2 separate regions of the Homo sapiens genome follow, and region 1 is linked to region 2. The links are contacts of gene promoters, found by promoter capture Hi-C in human tissues and cell types (Jung and others, 2019). All regions are on one chromosome and are shown on one strand. Each heading gives the region's core, a stretch centred on a gene start or on the middle of the fragment in contact. The rest is flanking DNA. Distances are from core to core; before and after follow the strand shown. Region 1 has its middle 11 kb from the start of AFG3L2. Region 2 holds the start of SPIRE1 (spire type actin nucleation factor 1).

Evidence for each region. Contacts are between HindIII fragments. The study calls those that stand out against the background at their distance.
Region 1: a fragment that was not itself captured here is called in contact with the fragment with the promoter of SPIRE1 in region 2 in 5 of the 25 tissues and cell types used here (dorsolateral prefrontal cortex, hippocampus, lymphoblastoid cells and 2 more).

The regions. Positions count from the first base shown.
Region 1 is chr18:12,384,173-12,391,673 of GRCh38, reverse strand. No RefSeq gene overlaps it. Among named protein-coding and RNA genes, the nearest start is that of AFG3L2, 11 kb to the right of the region's middle. The HindIII fragment of the contact is 5,953 bases long and covers 1,244-7,196 here.
Region 2 is chr18:12,653,802-12,661,195 of GRCh38, reverse strand. It overlaps SPIRE1 (spire type actin nucleation factor 1), which reads left to right and starts at 3,089. Exons shown (of 17, transcript NM_001128626.2): 1 at 3,089-3,666. The coding sequence starts at 3,330. It also overlaps a transcript of PSMG2 not described here. RefSeq lists silencers at 2,630-2,779, 2,830-2,899, 2,902-3,070, 2,940-3,359, 3,550-3,669. The HindIII fragment of the contact is 13,339 bases long and covers 1-7,394 here.

The sequences.
Region 1 (7,501 bases), core at 2,971-5,470, 270 kb after region 2:
TTGGCTGGGTGCGTGGGCTCATGCCTGTAATCCCAGCACTTTAGGAGGCCAAGATGGGAGGATCACTTGAAGCCAGGAGTTCAAGACCAGCCTCAGCAGTATAGTGAAACTCCAACGTTACAAAAAATTTAAAAATTAGCCAGCTGTGGTGGCGCAGGCCTGTAGTCACAGCTATTTGGAAAGTTGAGGCTTGAGCCTGGGCATTCAAGGCTACAGTGAGCTATGATCGTGCCACTGCACTCCAGTCTGGGTGACAGAGCAAGACCCTGTCTCAAAAAAAAAAGCTCACGGTGGCTTCTGAAATAAAAAGAAATGAGAATTAGTCTAAATGACGCTTGGTGAGAAAACTATTAAAGCTTTACAAGAGAATACAATAGAGTTTATTAATGCCTTGGGGGAACTATATGTTATTAACATACAAAAATATATGTTAAACAAAAGAAAAAATCAAGATGCATAAAGTACACGTTCGTTCATGTAAAAATAAGTTTTTTTTTTTTTGTTTGTTTGTTTTGAGACAGAGTCTTACTCTGTCACCTAGGCTGGAGTGCAGTGGCACCATCTCGGCTAACTGCAACCTCTGCTTCCCGGGTTGAAGTGGTTCTCAGGCCTCAGCTTCCCTTGTAGCTGGGACTACAAGCGCATGCTACCACACCCGGCTAATTTTCTATATTTTCAGTAGAGGCTGGGTTTTACCATGTTGGCCAGGCTGGTCTCAAACTCCTGGCCTCAAGCAATTCACCAGCCTTGGATTTCCAAAGTGCTGGGATTACAGGCATCAGCCACCACACCTGGCCTAAAAATTAGTTCTATATGCTTGCAAATACATATAAAATGTATGGACACACACACACAGAAAAAACTACCTAGAAATTTACCTTTAAAGGCCAGGCACCATGGCTCATGCCTATAATCACAGCACTTTGGGAGGCCAAGGCAGGTGGATCACCTGAGGTCAGGAGTTAGAGACCAGCCTGGTCAACATAGTGAAACACTAAAAATACAAAAATTAGCCGGGCATGGTGGCAGGTGCCTGTAATCCCAGCTACTCGGGAGGCCAAGGCAGGAGAATAGCTTGAAATCTGGGAGGCAAAGCTTGCAGTAAGCCGAGATCAGCCACTGCACTCCAGCCTGGGCGACAGAGTGAGACTGTGTCAAAAAAAAAAAAAAAAGTCCGGGCGCGGTGGCTCACGCCTGTAATCCCAGCACTTTGGGAGGCTGAGGTGCGTGGATCACGAGGTCAGGAGATCGAAACCATCCTGGCTAACACAGTGAAACCCCGTCTCTACTAAAAATACAAAAAAATTAGCCAGGCATGGTGGTGAGCACCTGTAATTCCAGCTACTTGGGAGGCCGAGGCAGGAGAATAGCTTGAAATCTGCGAGGCAAAGCTTGCAGTAAGCTGAGATCAGGCCACTGCACTCCAGCCTGGGCAACACAGTGAGACTCCGTCTCAAAAAAAAAAAAAAAAAGAAAGAAAGAAAGAAAGAAAGTTACCTTTAAGATGTGAACATGAGAAATGAAGATACTTTTACTTTTCATTTTGTAACTTTGTTTCTGTCCACACTGATGAAAAAAAAATTTATACTGAACTTTTTTTTTATTTTGAAAGACAGAGTCTTGTTCTGTCACCTAGGCTGGAGTGCAATGGTGTGATCATAGGTCACTGCAGCCTTGAATTCTGGGCTCAGGCAATCCTCCTGCCTCAGCCTCCTGAGTAGCTTGAACTACAGGCCTGTACCAGCACACTGAGCTAATTTTTAATTTTTAATTTTTTTTTTTGAGATGGAGTCTCGCTCTGTCACCCAGGCTGGAGTGCAGTGGTGCGATCTCGGCTCACTGCAAGCTCCGCCTCCCGAGTTCATGCCATTCTCCTGCCTCAGCCTCCAGAGTGGCTGGGACTACAGGCACCCGCCACCACGCCCGGCTAATTTTTTGTATTTTTAGTAGAGACAGGGTTTCACTGTGTCAGCCAGGATGGTCTCAATCTCCTGACCTCGTGATCCACCCGCCTTGGCCTCTCAAAGTGCTGGGATTACAGGCGTGAGCCACCGCGCCTGGCCATGCGTGGCTAATTTTTGTATTTTTAGTAGAGGCCGGATTTCATCATCTTGGCCAGGCTGGTCTTGAACTCCTGACCTTGTGATCCACCCGGCCTCAGCCTCCCAAAGTGTTGGGATTACAGGCATGGGCCACCGTGCCTGGCGGTTTTTTTTTTTTTTCTTTTTTTTAGACAGAATCTCACTGTGTCTCCCAGGCTGGAGTGCAGTAGCTTGATCTTGGCTTACTGCAAACCACCCCCTCCCGGGTTCAAGTGATTCTCCTGCCTCAGCCTCCAGAGTAGTTGGGATTACAGGTGCGTGCCACCATGCCTGGCTAATTTTTGTATTTTTAGTAGGGATGGGGTTTCCTCATGTTGGCCAGGCTGGTCTTGAACTCCTGACCTCAAATGATCCGCCCACCTCAGCTTCCCAAAGTGCTGGGATTACAGGCATGAGCCACTGCACCTGGCCTAATTTTTAAATTTTTTTGTACAGACGGGGATCTCACTGTGTTGCCCAGGCTGGTCTCAAACTCCTGGCCTCAGGCCATCCTCCCCACTTGGCTTCTCAAAGTGCTGGGATTCTATAATCCACTGCACCTGGCCCCATCCTTATACTGAACCTTTTATATTTCAACATTTTACATTTTCTTGCTCGTAAAACTATTATACATTTATTATAAGATATTTGGAAAATATACATAGTCATAAAATTATTTTTTCAAAAGTACTTGTAATCTCACTCAGCACTGAAAAAAATAACATCCTTTAATAGTCTTAGATTGTATTATATTTTATTTGAATAGGTAATATTTTCACATGGTTCAATAAGGTAAACACTGTGAAAAAGCACACACCGAGAAGCTCAGACAGTCCACACCATCCTGCCTGCTGTAGGCAGCCACCTTCATTAGTCTTGCACACTCTATCAACCATCCCCCCAGCCCCTGGCAATCCCTAATCACCGTCTTCCGTCTCCATGGATTTGCCTGTTCAGCATATTTCATATGTATAAATGCAATCTTATAATATGTGGTCTTTCATGTCTGATTTCTTTGTTTCCAAGGTTTATCCATGCTATAGCATGTATCAGGTCTTCATTTTATGGCTGAATAATAATCCATTGTAATAATACACCACATTTCATTTTATCCATTCAGTTGATACATATTTAGGCCCTTTCTGGTTTTTGGCTATCATGAATAATGCTGCTATGAACACAGCATATGTACCTTTGTTATGAACACATGTACAGGTTTCTGTGTGGATATATCCTTTCAATTATCTTGGGAAGATGCCCAGGAGTGGACATGCTGAGTCATATGACTATGTTTAACCTATGAAAATTGACAGTTTTCCATAGACCTACTAGCGTGAGGGTTCCAATTTCTCCACACTCTTGATAATACTTGTTATCTTTATTATGTATACATCTATATTATTTTGTACTATCTATAGTATTTTTGATTGCAGCCCTCCTAGAGTGTGAAGTGGAATCTCGTGGTTTTGATTTGACTTTCATTGACAGCTAATGATGTTGAGCCTCTCTCTATGTGCTGGTTGGCCATTTGTATGTCTTCTTCGAGGACATGTCTATTCAAGTCCTTTGCCCATTAAAAAAATAGCTTCAATGAGATATCATTTATATACCATATAGTTCATCTATTTAAAATGTTGAAATTAATGGTTTTAGGTCATTCAAAGAGCGGTACAACCATCACCACAATTGATCTTAGGACATTTTGATCACCTTGGAAAGAAACCTGAAACCCTTAGCTAGCACCCTTCCCAATCCCTCCCCTCCCTCCATCAACCCTATATAGCCACTATCTGCTTCCGTCTCTATAGATCTGCCTATTTGGACATTTTATGTAAATTGATTCACACACTATGTGGCCTTTTTGTGTAGCATACTATTTTCAAGATTCATTCATGTTTTCTTTTCTTTTTGTTTGTTTTTTTTTTTTTTTTTGAGACGGAGTCTCGCTCTGTCGCTGGAGTGCAGTGGCACGATCTCGGCTCACTGCAAGCTCCGTCTTCCGAGTTCATGCCATTCTCCTGCCTCAGCCTCCCGAGTAGCTGGGACTACAGGCGCCTGCCACTGCGCCTGGCTAATTTTTTGTATTTTTAGTAGAGACGAGGTTTCACCGTGGTCTCGATCTCCTGACCTCGTGATCCGCCCACCTCGGCCTCCCAAAGTGCTGGGATTACAGGCGTTTTTTTTGAGACAGAGTCTCACTCCGTGGCTGAGGCTAGAGTGTAGTGGCGTGATCTTGGCTCACTTCAACCTCTGTCTCCCAAGTTCAAGTGATTCTTGTGCCTCAGCCTCCCAAGTAGCTGGGACTACAGATGTGCGCCACCATGCCTGGCTAATTTTTGTATTTTTAGTAGAGATGGAGTTTTGCCATGTTGACCAGGTTGGTCTTGAACTCCTGGCCTCAAGCAATCCACCCGCCTTGGTCTCCTAAAATGCTGGGACTACAGGCATGAGCCACCGCACCTGACCTCTTTTCTTTTTTTTTAATTGAAGCATTTTTTTCTTTTTTATTGTGCTAAAAATTTACAATATAAATTTGTCATTTAAACCATCTAAATATACAATTTGGCTGGGTGCAGGGGCTCATACCTATAATCCCAGCTCTTTGAGAGAATGAGGTAGGAGGGTTGCTTGAGGCCAGGAGTTTGAGACCAGTGTAAGCAACATAGTGACACCCTATTTCTGCAAAAAATTTAAAAAACTAGCCAGGTATAGTGGTGTGCACCTGTAGTCCCAGCTACTTTGGAGGATGAGGTGGGAGGATCACTTCAGCCCAAAGGTTGAGGCTGCAGTGAGCTATGATCACACTACTACATTCCAGTCTGGGTGACAGAGTAAGACTTTGTCTCTAAATAAATAAGTAAATAAATCAATCTAATTTCGTATATGGTGTGAGGGGTAAGGCTCCAACTCATTCTTTTGCATCCAGTTCTCCTAGAACCATTTGTTGAAAAGACTATTCTTTCTCTATTAGATGAACTTTGCATCCTTGTCAAAAATTAGTTGACATGTATGAATTTACTTCTGGATTCTTAATTATATTCTGTACGTCTATATGTCTGTCCTTATGCCAATACCTACAGTTTTGATTTTATGAAGTTTTGTAAATGAGAAGTATGAATCCTACAACTGTATTCTTTTTCAAGGTTGTATTTGGGGCCCTTTGCAATTCCATATGAATTTGAAGATTGCATTTTCATGTCTGCAAAAAGAAAAAGAAAGGAAGGAAGGAAGGATGGATGGAAGGAAGGAAGGAAGAAAGAAAGAAAAGAAAGAAAGAAAGAAAGATAAAGAAAACAAGCAAGCAGGCAGGCACTTAGAGTTGTGACTGCACTGAATCTGTAGATGGCTTTGGGCAGTTTTGCTATCTTAACAATATTGTTTTCCAATCCACTAACATGGAATACCCTTTCACTTATTTAAGTCTTCTTAAATTTCTTTTTTTAAGATGAAGTCTCACTCTGTTGCCCAGGCTAGAGTGTGCAGTGGCATGATCTCCGTTCACTGCAACCTCCACCTCCCAGGTTCAAGAGATTCTCCTGTTTCAGCCTCCCAAGTAGCTGGGACTACAGGCGTGCACCACCATGCCCAACTAATTTTTATATTTTTTTAGTAGAGACGGGGTTTCACCATATTGGCCAGGCCGGTCTCGAACTCCTGACCTCGTGATCAGCCCGCCTCGGATTCCCAAAGTGCTGGGATTACAGGCTGAGTCAGGAGAATGGCTTGAACCCAGGAGGCAGAGGTTGCAGTGAGCTGAGATTGTGCCACTGCACTCCAGCCTGGGTGACAGAGCAGCAAGACTCCATCTCAAAAAAAAAAGATAAATAAAATTGACAAAACTTATTTATTTATTTATTGAGATGGAGTCTCGTTCTGTAGTCCAGGCTGGAGTGCGGTGGCGCGATCTCAGCTCACTGCGAGCTCCGCCTCCCGGGTTCACACCATTCTCCTGCCTCAGCCTCCCAAATAGCTGGGACTACAGGCGCCCGCCACCACGCCTGGCTAATTTTTTTGTATTTTTAGTAGATACAGGGTTTCACTGTGTTAGCCAGGGTGGTCTCAATTTCCTGACCTCGTGATCCACCTGCCTTGGCCTCCCAAAATGCTGGGATTACAGGCATGAGCCACCGCACTCGGCCAAAGTTGACAAATCTTTAACTAGACTGACAAAGAAAACAGGGAGAAGTTGCAAATATCTAAAATCAGAAATAAAAGTGGGGTAACTACTATTGACCTTTTACAGGAAAAGGATTAGAGCTAGGCATGGTGGCAAATGCCTATAGTCCCAGCTACTTGGGAGGCTGAGGCAGGAGGATCACTGGAACCTGGGAGTTTAAGGCTTGTGTAAGCTATGGTCATATCACTGCACTCTGGCCTGGGCAATATAGCTAGACATGATCTCCTTTTTTTTTAGATGGAGTCTTGCTCTGTCACCCAGGCTGGAGTGCAATAGCGAGATCTCGGCTCATTGCAACCTCCACCTACCGGGTTCAGGAGATTCTCCTGCCTCAGCCTCCTGAGTAGCTTGGATTACAGGTGCGTGTCACCATGCCTGGCTCATTTTTGTATTTTTAGTAGAGACAGGGTTTCATCACATTGGTCAGGCTGGTCTCAAACTCCTGACCTCATGATCTGCCTGCCTCGGCTTCCCAAAGTGCTGGCATTACAGATGTGAGCCACTGGGCCCGGCCTATTTATCTTTTTAAGAACCAACTCCTGTTTTTGTTAATTTTCTCGATTGCTTTTCCTCTTTTCTATTTTATTTATCTCTGCTCTAATCTTTATTATTTTTTTCCTTCATCTAGCTTTGAGTTTAGTTCGTTCTTTTTCTATTCCCTCAAGGTGTAAAGTTATTGATTTGAGATCTTTCTTCTTTTTAAAATGTAGCTATTTACAGCTATAAATTTCTGTTTGAGAACTGCCTTCACTGCATCCATAAGTTTCAGCATATTGTGTTTTTATTCTCCTTTGTCTCGCAGTATTCTCTAATTTTCCTTGTGATTTCTTCTCTCAGTCATTGGCTATTTGAGGGTGTGTTGTTTCACAGCCACATATTTGTGAGTTTTCCAGTTTTCCTCTTGTTATTGATTTTTAACTTCATTCCAATGTGGTCAGAGAAGATAGTTTGCATGATTTCAGTCTTTTTAAATCTATTGAGACTTGTTTTGTGGCCTATCATATGGTCTATCCCAGAGAATGTTTCCTGTGCACTTGAGAAGAATGTGTATTCTGTTGTTGGGAGGAGCTCTGCATATACGTCTTGTAGGTCTAGTTGGTTTATGGTTTATTTTATTTTATTTTTTTTGAGACAGGGTTTCACTCCCTTTGCTCAGGCTGGAGTGCAGTTGCATGCTCTCTGCTCACTACAAGCTCTTCCTCCTGTGCTCAAGCAATCCTTCTGCCTCAGCCTCTCAAGTAAC
Region 2 (7,394 bases), core at 1,840-4,339:
GCTGGGATTACAGGTGCCTGCCACCATGCCCAGCTAATTTTTGTATTTTTAGTAGAGACAGGTTTTTGCCATGTTGGCCAGGCTGGTCTCGAACTCCTGACCTCAGGTGATCTGCCCGCCTCGGCCTCCCAAACTGCTGGGATTACAGGCGTGAGCCACCATGCCTGGCCAGCTTATCAAAACTTTAAGGAGTACTGAAAATCATTTAGAAGTTAGTAAGTTATAGTCTTTATACAAAAAAGAGTCAAGTGTTCATGTTGTATAACTACACTTAGAAGACAGCTAGGATTTTAAAGATTTTCCTTTATTTTGTGTAGAGAAGAAACATCACACAATATTCTACTTGTCATCTTTCCTCAACTTAATTACATATATGCTCACACAGGCAAAATATTTAAGTATATCATACCATGAATTGTTACTTGGCAATAAAAAAAAAAGCCCTTCTGTTGGATATAACTGTCTTGTGATACAGTGCAGTAATGTCTCCCTCTCAAAATGTGTATATGTTAAAAAAAATCATCACTCAAGGAAAATCCTAGTGTTGCAAATTTGTTTTTAAGAATGTATCTTTTGGCCGGGCACAGTGGCTCACACCTGTAATCCCAGCGCTTTTGGAGGCTGAGGCGGGTGGACCACTGAAGTCAGGAGTTTGAGACCAGCCTGGCCAACATGGTAAAACCCTGTCTTTACTAAAAATACAAAAATTAGCCAGGCATGGTAGCGTGTGCCTGTAATCCCAGCTACTCGGGAGGCCGAGGCACGAGAATCATCTCAACCCAGGAGGCGGAAGTTGCAGTGAGCTGAAATCGCGGCACTGACCCTAGCCTGGGAGACAGGGTGAGACTCTGTCTCAATTAAAAAAAAAAAAAAAATGCATCTTTTTCCATTGATTAGAGGGATGACTAAAAAAAGAAGAATGCATCTTTTAAAAGATAAAGTTTGGATTTCCTTTACTCACTTCCTCCTTCCCTGTATTGTTGTCTTCAAGATTTATTTACTGCTCTATGCCAGGGTTAGCAGGTTAATGGCTCATAGATTCCTCAGTTTATTAACCCATTTATCTTGTTTACTGGTGGGTAAGGCAAAGATAAAAATGTGTTTGGCTGTAGTTGTCCAAGTGCAATGGGCAGCAGTATCCCATAAGGCCAGGAGGTGGTAGTGTTGTCCATAAAAGTAGACCTTCATTTTTTTTCCTGGATTGTTCAAAATATTTTAAACCAGTCTGTATTTGCAAAATCCACACAGGATAAACTTTTGAAATAGCAAAATTTGGGAATGTTTGTCTGTTTTTAATCAAGAGGACAGAGATATATTTATATGTATATAGTGTCACACATAAGGAATTACATGTTTGCCTCTCTGGGCTTTGGCACACATAGATACTGCATTGCTACAAATGAGATTATGAACCTATAATTAAGTGATGCTACTTTAAGGGGTTGTTTTGTCTCTCTCGTACTGAAATTATAATAAGTTGCCTGGGGAGCTTTCTTCTCCTCTTTCAATTTATTATTTATTTTTTTGAGACAGACTCTCGCTCTGTCCCCCAGGCTGGAGTGCAGTGGTGTGATCTTGGCTCATTGCAACTTCCACCTCCCAGGTTCAAGCGATTCTCCTGCCTCAGCCTCCCGGGTAGCTGGGATTACAAGCGTGCGTCACCACACTCGGCTAATTTTCTTTGTATTTTTAGTAGAGACAGGGTTTCCCCATGTTGGCCAGGCTGGTCTCGAACTCCTGACCTCAGTGATCTGCCCGCCTCAGCCTCCCAAAGTGCTGGGATTACAGGCCTAAGCCACTGCGCACGGCCCTCTTTCAATTTCTTAATTTTCCTTTTCGTCCTGTTGCTTTTCTCCCTCCTCCCCATTCCCAGCTGTATGTAAGATGGTATCTCATTTTAATAGACTGTTGTTATTTAAATAGACTGTTGTAGTTTCTACCGCAAGATGCAATTGTTGAGAGCGTGATTTCTAACATTTTACATAAAACTGCCGTAAAAGGTTTACTGGAACTTAATATACATTGCCTATTTGGTTGATGCTTTCAACACTCTGTAGGGCTTTCACACAGGACTAGCCTCAGTGGAATTTTATCGATTAAATTAATCTACCAATGGGTGATTAAGAATTATCTGTTTTATTGCATATTTAATAGGTTGGGGGGGCGGAATTCTTTCTTTCTACGGCTAATTGCCCTCAGTTCAATTTTACCACTGTGATATTCATTCCACATGCTCTGATGAGTGTGGTACTTGAGACATTACCTTAGTGAGGGAAGGGACCAATGTTACAAATGAATCCGGAAGGACGCTAAAACTAACACCTGCAAATTATGTACATGTTTATATTCCAGGCGCTGGTTTAGCTTTTGGGAGAAGTCAGTGAGGAAAACCCGTAAAGATCCCCGTCTTTACGGTGCTTACCCTGAAGATGGGAGTGGAGAGGGAGGTATTCAACCAGCAAGAAATCGGAAAACGCGCAGAGCGGCCGCGGGGTCACGGGAAACTGCCGGAGGCTTTCAGGGCCCAGGGCCCGGCGGGGAGGCTTCAGCGGGCCTGCATTTTCTTAGGCATCCGCTCCAGGCGGGTTCAAGTTTTCAACCAGACCTTCGGCGATCCAGCGCCTAGGGAACGTCAATGCGGGTGACTTCTCCCGCTGTGCAGGGCGGTGACCCGGGTTGGCGCGCCCAGTTCCCCGCCAGAGTCGGCCGGGGACTTCCCTGATAAATGCGACACCCTCTTGCCCCTGCGCCCCCCGACCGCGCGCCCGGCCCCGCGTGTCCCCCACGCCCCACAACCCTGCACGCCCTACCCGGCCGCGCATCCCCTCCGGACCGTGCGTCGCCGCCCTCACCATTGCGCCCCCAGCTGTGTGTCCCTTGCGACCGGGCCCCCCGACCGGGCGTCACCGCCTGCGACTCTGAGAGCCCTGCGGGCTAGAGACCGTGCGGCCATCTCGCCTCGAGGCGAGGCCCTCCTGCCTGGTCCTCACCTCCAGAGCGTGCATCCCCCGGCCCGTGCGGCCCCCTAAGGGGCGGGCGCTGGGCGGCGCTGGACGGCGCGAGGCGGGGCGGGGCGGGGCGGGGCGCCGGACGCCATCGCGTCGCTACCGGCCGGCGGCTGTCTGACCGGGACTGCAGCCGTGTCCTCGCCGCCCTCCTCTTGCCCACGCCTCCCGGGCACTCGCCTGGTCCCGGCGGCGGCGCGCGCGGCCGCGTTGGGCGGCGGCGGTTCCGGGGATGGTGAGGCGGCGGCGCGCGACGACGATGCTCCGGAGCTGAGGAGACGCCGGCACACGGCGCGACTGCCGAGCGCAGCGCCCACCCGCGGGATGGCTCAGGCGGCTGGCCCGGCGGGCGGCGGGGAGCCGCGGACTGAGGCAGTGGGCGGCGAGGGGCCGCGGGAGCCCGGGGCAGCCGGCGGCGCGGCCGGGGGCTCCCGGGACGCGCTGAGCCTGGAGGAGATCCTGCGGCTGTACAACCAGCCCATCAACGAGGAGCAGGCGTGGGCCGTGTGCTACCAGTGCTGCGGTTCCCTGCGCGCCGCCGCCCGCCGCCGCCAGCCCCGCCACCGTGTGCGCTCGGCCGCGCAGATCCGCGTCTGGAGGGACGGCGCCGTCACCCTGGCGCCCGCGGCCGACGACGCGGGAGAGCCGCCCCCAGTTGCGGGTGAGGCCGCCGGGCCCCTTTCCCTCGTAGTTCTTGGAACACCCGCGGCTGGGCCGCCTTACCCTCAGCGTCCCCGGCCCTTCCGCCCCCGCCGTCCCCCCCCATTTTGCCACGGGAGACCCCCGGGAGGATCCGGCGGGGACCCGCAGGGGAGGACGGCGTCAGGCCGTGGCTGGCCGGGGCCCCTCGGAGGTCAGAGCCTCGTGGCGGGCGACGGCGCAAATCCGCTGTGCGGAGGACGTTTGGGTGGGCCTGGGCCTGCGGGCCGCGGGGCGCTCGTCATTGTGCTGCCCGCGGGACAGCTGCCCGCGGCGCGTTTGGGAGCGGTGGGCTGGGCCCTGCTCCGGGCCAGCGGCCTGTGCGCCTCACGCCGTGGCTGCTGACACACGGCCGGGTTCACGGGGTGGGGAGGGCATCGCAGGCTTCACGCGGGGGCTCCGCACGGATCCTCAGTGCCGCTGTCGGAAACACCGCACTCCTCACGGGAAACTAGCAGTATTCCACATTAGACAGCCTTTCCTCGGTTCGGAAATGTAAAGATGATTCTGAACCGTGAGAATTCTGCTCTTTGGGGAGAAATGGAAAAATAGACTAAATAGTGATTTTTGGCTCCTGGACGTTAGAAAATACTGATTGCATTCCTGTATGTGAAAATTTGTTGTGATGAAAAACAGGCTTGTAAAGTGAAAAGTTGACAGGATGTCGGGATACAAAGAGAAAATGGGCCTTAGTTACGTCATTGTCTAATGTAAAATTTTCAGGATTATGACCTAAACAGTAATTTATAGCCAGGGTTTACTCAGATGCTCATTGAAGAGGAGGAGGAGGTTGAGAAAAGGTTTCTCCCATCAGTTTTTATCTAATTCATTCTTTTGAGAGGCAAGTCTATTAAAAACATAGAAAAACAATCTACCCTCACTTTTAGAAAGTTGATGGAAATGTCAAAATGCTTAAGGTGAAAGATGTAATTTCGAATTAGTAAAATGACATTTAATGAAAACCCTTGTCTAACTTGATTAAAACAATATTCAAGGTTATAGTTATTCTTTCAGTTCCACCAGAACGTTTTTATCTTTTATTTTTTAGTGTCAGGTAAACACATTTTTATTTACATGCTTTTATCTTTTATTTTTTAGCGTCAGGTAAACGATTTTTTATTTAAAGCCATCTTTTTAATTGTTCTTTTGAAACTATTTCAAATAGTATTTTTGTTTCTTTGATGGGCTTATTGCTTTTAAACTTGGACTTAATCTTAGTGGGAAATACTTGCAATTATAATTTATAGTGTATTAAATGGTACAAAAGATACATTTATAAAATACAGCAATGTCTGCCAGGTGCGGTGGCTCAAGCCTGTAATCCCAGCACTTTGGGATGCCGAGGCAGGTGGATCACCTGAGGTCAGGAGTTCGAGACCAGCCTGGCCAACATGGTGAAACCCCGTCTCTATTAAAAATACAAAAATTAGCCGGGCGTGGTGTTGTGCCGCTGGAATACCAGCTACTCGGGAGGCTGAGGTGGGAGAATTGCTTGAACCTGGGAGGTGGAGGCTGTAGTGAGCTGAGATCGCGCCACTGCACTCCAGCCTGGGTGACAGAGCGAGACGCCGTCTCAAAAAAAAATACAGCAATATCGTGCCTTGGGATTTAGCTATTTCCAGAGGAAAAATGGTTGTGTGCAGCCTGCTTTTAGAAGCAGCGTTGGTAGTGGTGATTTCCGGAGAGAACAAGCCCCCAGTTTACATTGTCTTGTCACTTAAATTTAATCCCAAAATCGTGTAGTTTTGTTGTCAAAGATTGATAGATTCTCGTGGATGGGTTTTTTCTTTTTTTTTGGTCTGAATCTTATGTTGAATTGGATTATTTTTTACATCACTAGTGTGAGTGATAACATGTTGATCTCAGTGTAATAAACTGCCTTTATGGAGAAAATAGTGAGTGGAGTTGTTCTCCACAATTCGCAATAGGTTTATAATTCTCTTTCTCAGTTCTGCTCATGACCTGCGCTACCAGTTATGGAGGAGGCCTAATCAAAGTTGTTGATAGAGACTTGAGCATTTTCTGTTGCCTAAAATTATTTAAGAAGTTCATACTAAAACATTAGTTTATTTCCTCATTGGCTTTAAGAATAGTTGCGTGGCTCAGGAAGATACAGTCTTCTGAAGATTTTATCTTGATTCTTACACTTGATGAATAATTTGGTGGTGTGCACACTTAAAAATTCTATTCCTTCCTTCTTTCTTTCGCTTTATTTCTTTCTCTTTCTCTCTCTCTCTCTCTTTTTCTTTTCTTCTTTTTTTTTTTTGACAGGGTCTTGCTGTATTGCCCAGGCTGCTGAAGGCTGGAGTGCAGTGCTGTAGTCATAGCTCATTGCAGCCTGGAACTCCTGGGCTTAAGTGATCCAACTGCCTTGGCCTGCTAAAGTGCTGGGGTTACAGGTGTAACCCACCTTGCCCAGTCTCTCTTTTCTTTTTCTTTTCTTTTCTTTCTTTCTTTTTTTTTTTGAGATGGAGTCTCCCTCTGTTGCCAGGCTGGAGTGCTGTAGAACAGTCTTGGCTCACTGCAACCTCTGCCTCCTGAGTTCAAGTGATTCTCTTGCCTCAGCCTCCCGAGCAGCTGGGACTATAGGCGCATGCCACCACGCCCAGCTAATTTTTGTATTTTTGGTAGAAATGGGGTTTCGCCATGTTGGCCAGGATGGTCTTGATCTCTTGACCTCATGATCCGCCTGCCTCGGCCTCCCAAAGTGCTGGGATTGCAGGCGTGAGCCACTGCGCCTGACTTCTCGTTTCAGTTTTAAGGAACGTTTGTATTCATGAGACTTCCATTGTAGGGAAGAGTTGGGGAAAATAAGTAAAAATAATTTTTTTTTTTTTGAGACGGAGTCTCGCTCAGTCGCCCAGGCTGGAGTGTGGTGGCGCGATCTCAGCTCACTGCAAGCTTGCAAGCTCCGCCTCCCAGGTGCATGCCATTCTCCTACCTCAGCCTCCCGAGTAGCTGGGACTAAAGATGCCTGCCACCATGCCTGGCTAATTTTTTTGTATTTTTAGTAGAGACGGGGTTTCACCATGTTAGCCAGGATGGTCTCGATCTCCTGACCTCGTGATCCGCCCGTCTCGGCCTCCCAAAGTGCTGGGATTACAGGCGTGAGCCACCGTGCCCAGCCAAATTTTTTTTTTTTTTTTTTTTTTTTTGAGGTGGAGTCTCACTTTGTCGCCCAGGCTGGAGTGCAGTGGTGCAGTCTCGGCTGACTGCAACCTCCGCCTCCAGGGTTCAAGCAATTCTCCTACCTCAGCCTCCCAAGTAGCTGGGATTACAGGTGTGTACCACCATGCCCAGCTAATTTTTGTATTTTTAGTAGAGAAGGGTTTTCACCATGTTGGCTGAGCTGGTCTCAAACTCCTGACCTCAGGTGATCCACCCGCCTCAGCCTCCCACAGTGCTGGGATTACAGAAGTGAGCCACGGTGCCTGGCCACACTTTCTTTTTCATTGTATTTATCATGATTATATGTAGTTAGCAATCTGCAACGTTTATGTTTTCACATCCATTGATTTCTGTTTCTTTCTTTCTTTTTTTTTTTTGAGACGGAGTTTTGCTCTTGTTGCCCAGGCTGGAGTGCAATGGCGCAATCTTGGCTCACTGCCACTTCCGCCTCCCGGGTTCAAGAGATTCTCCTGCCTCAGCCTCCCGAGTAGCTGGGATTCCAGACATGCACTACCACGCCTG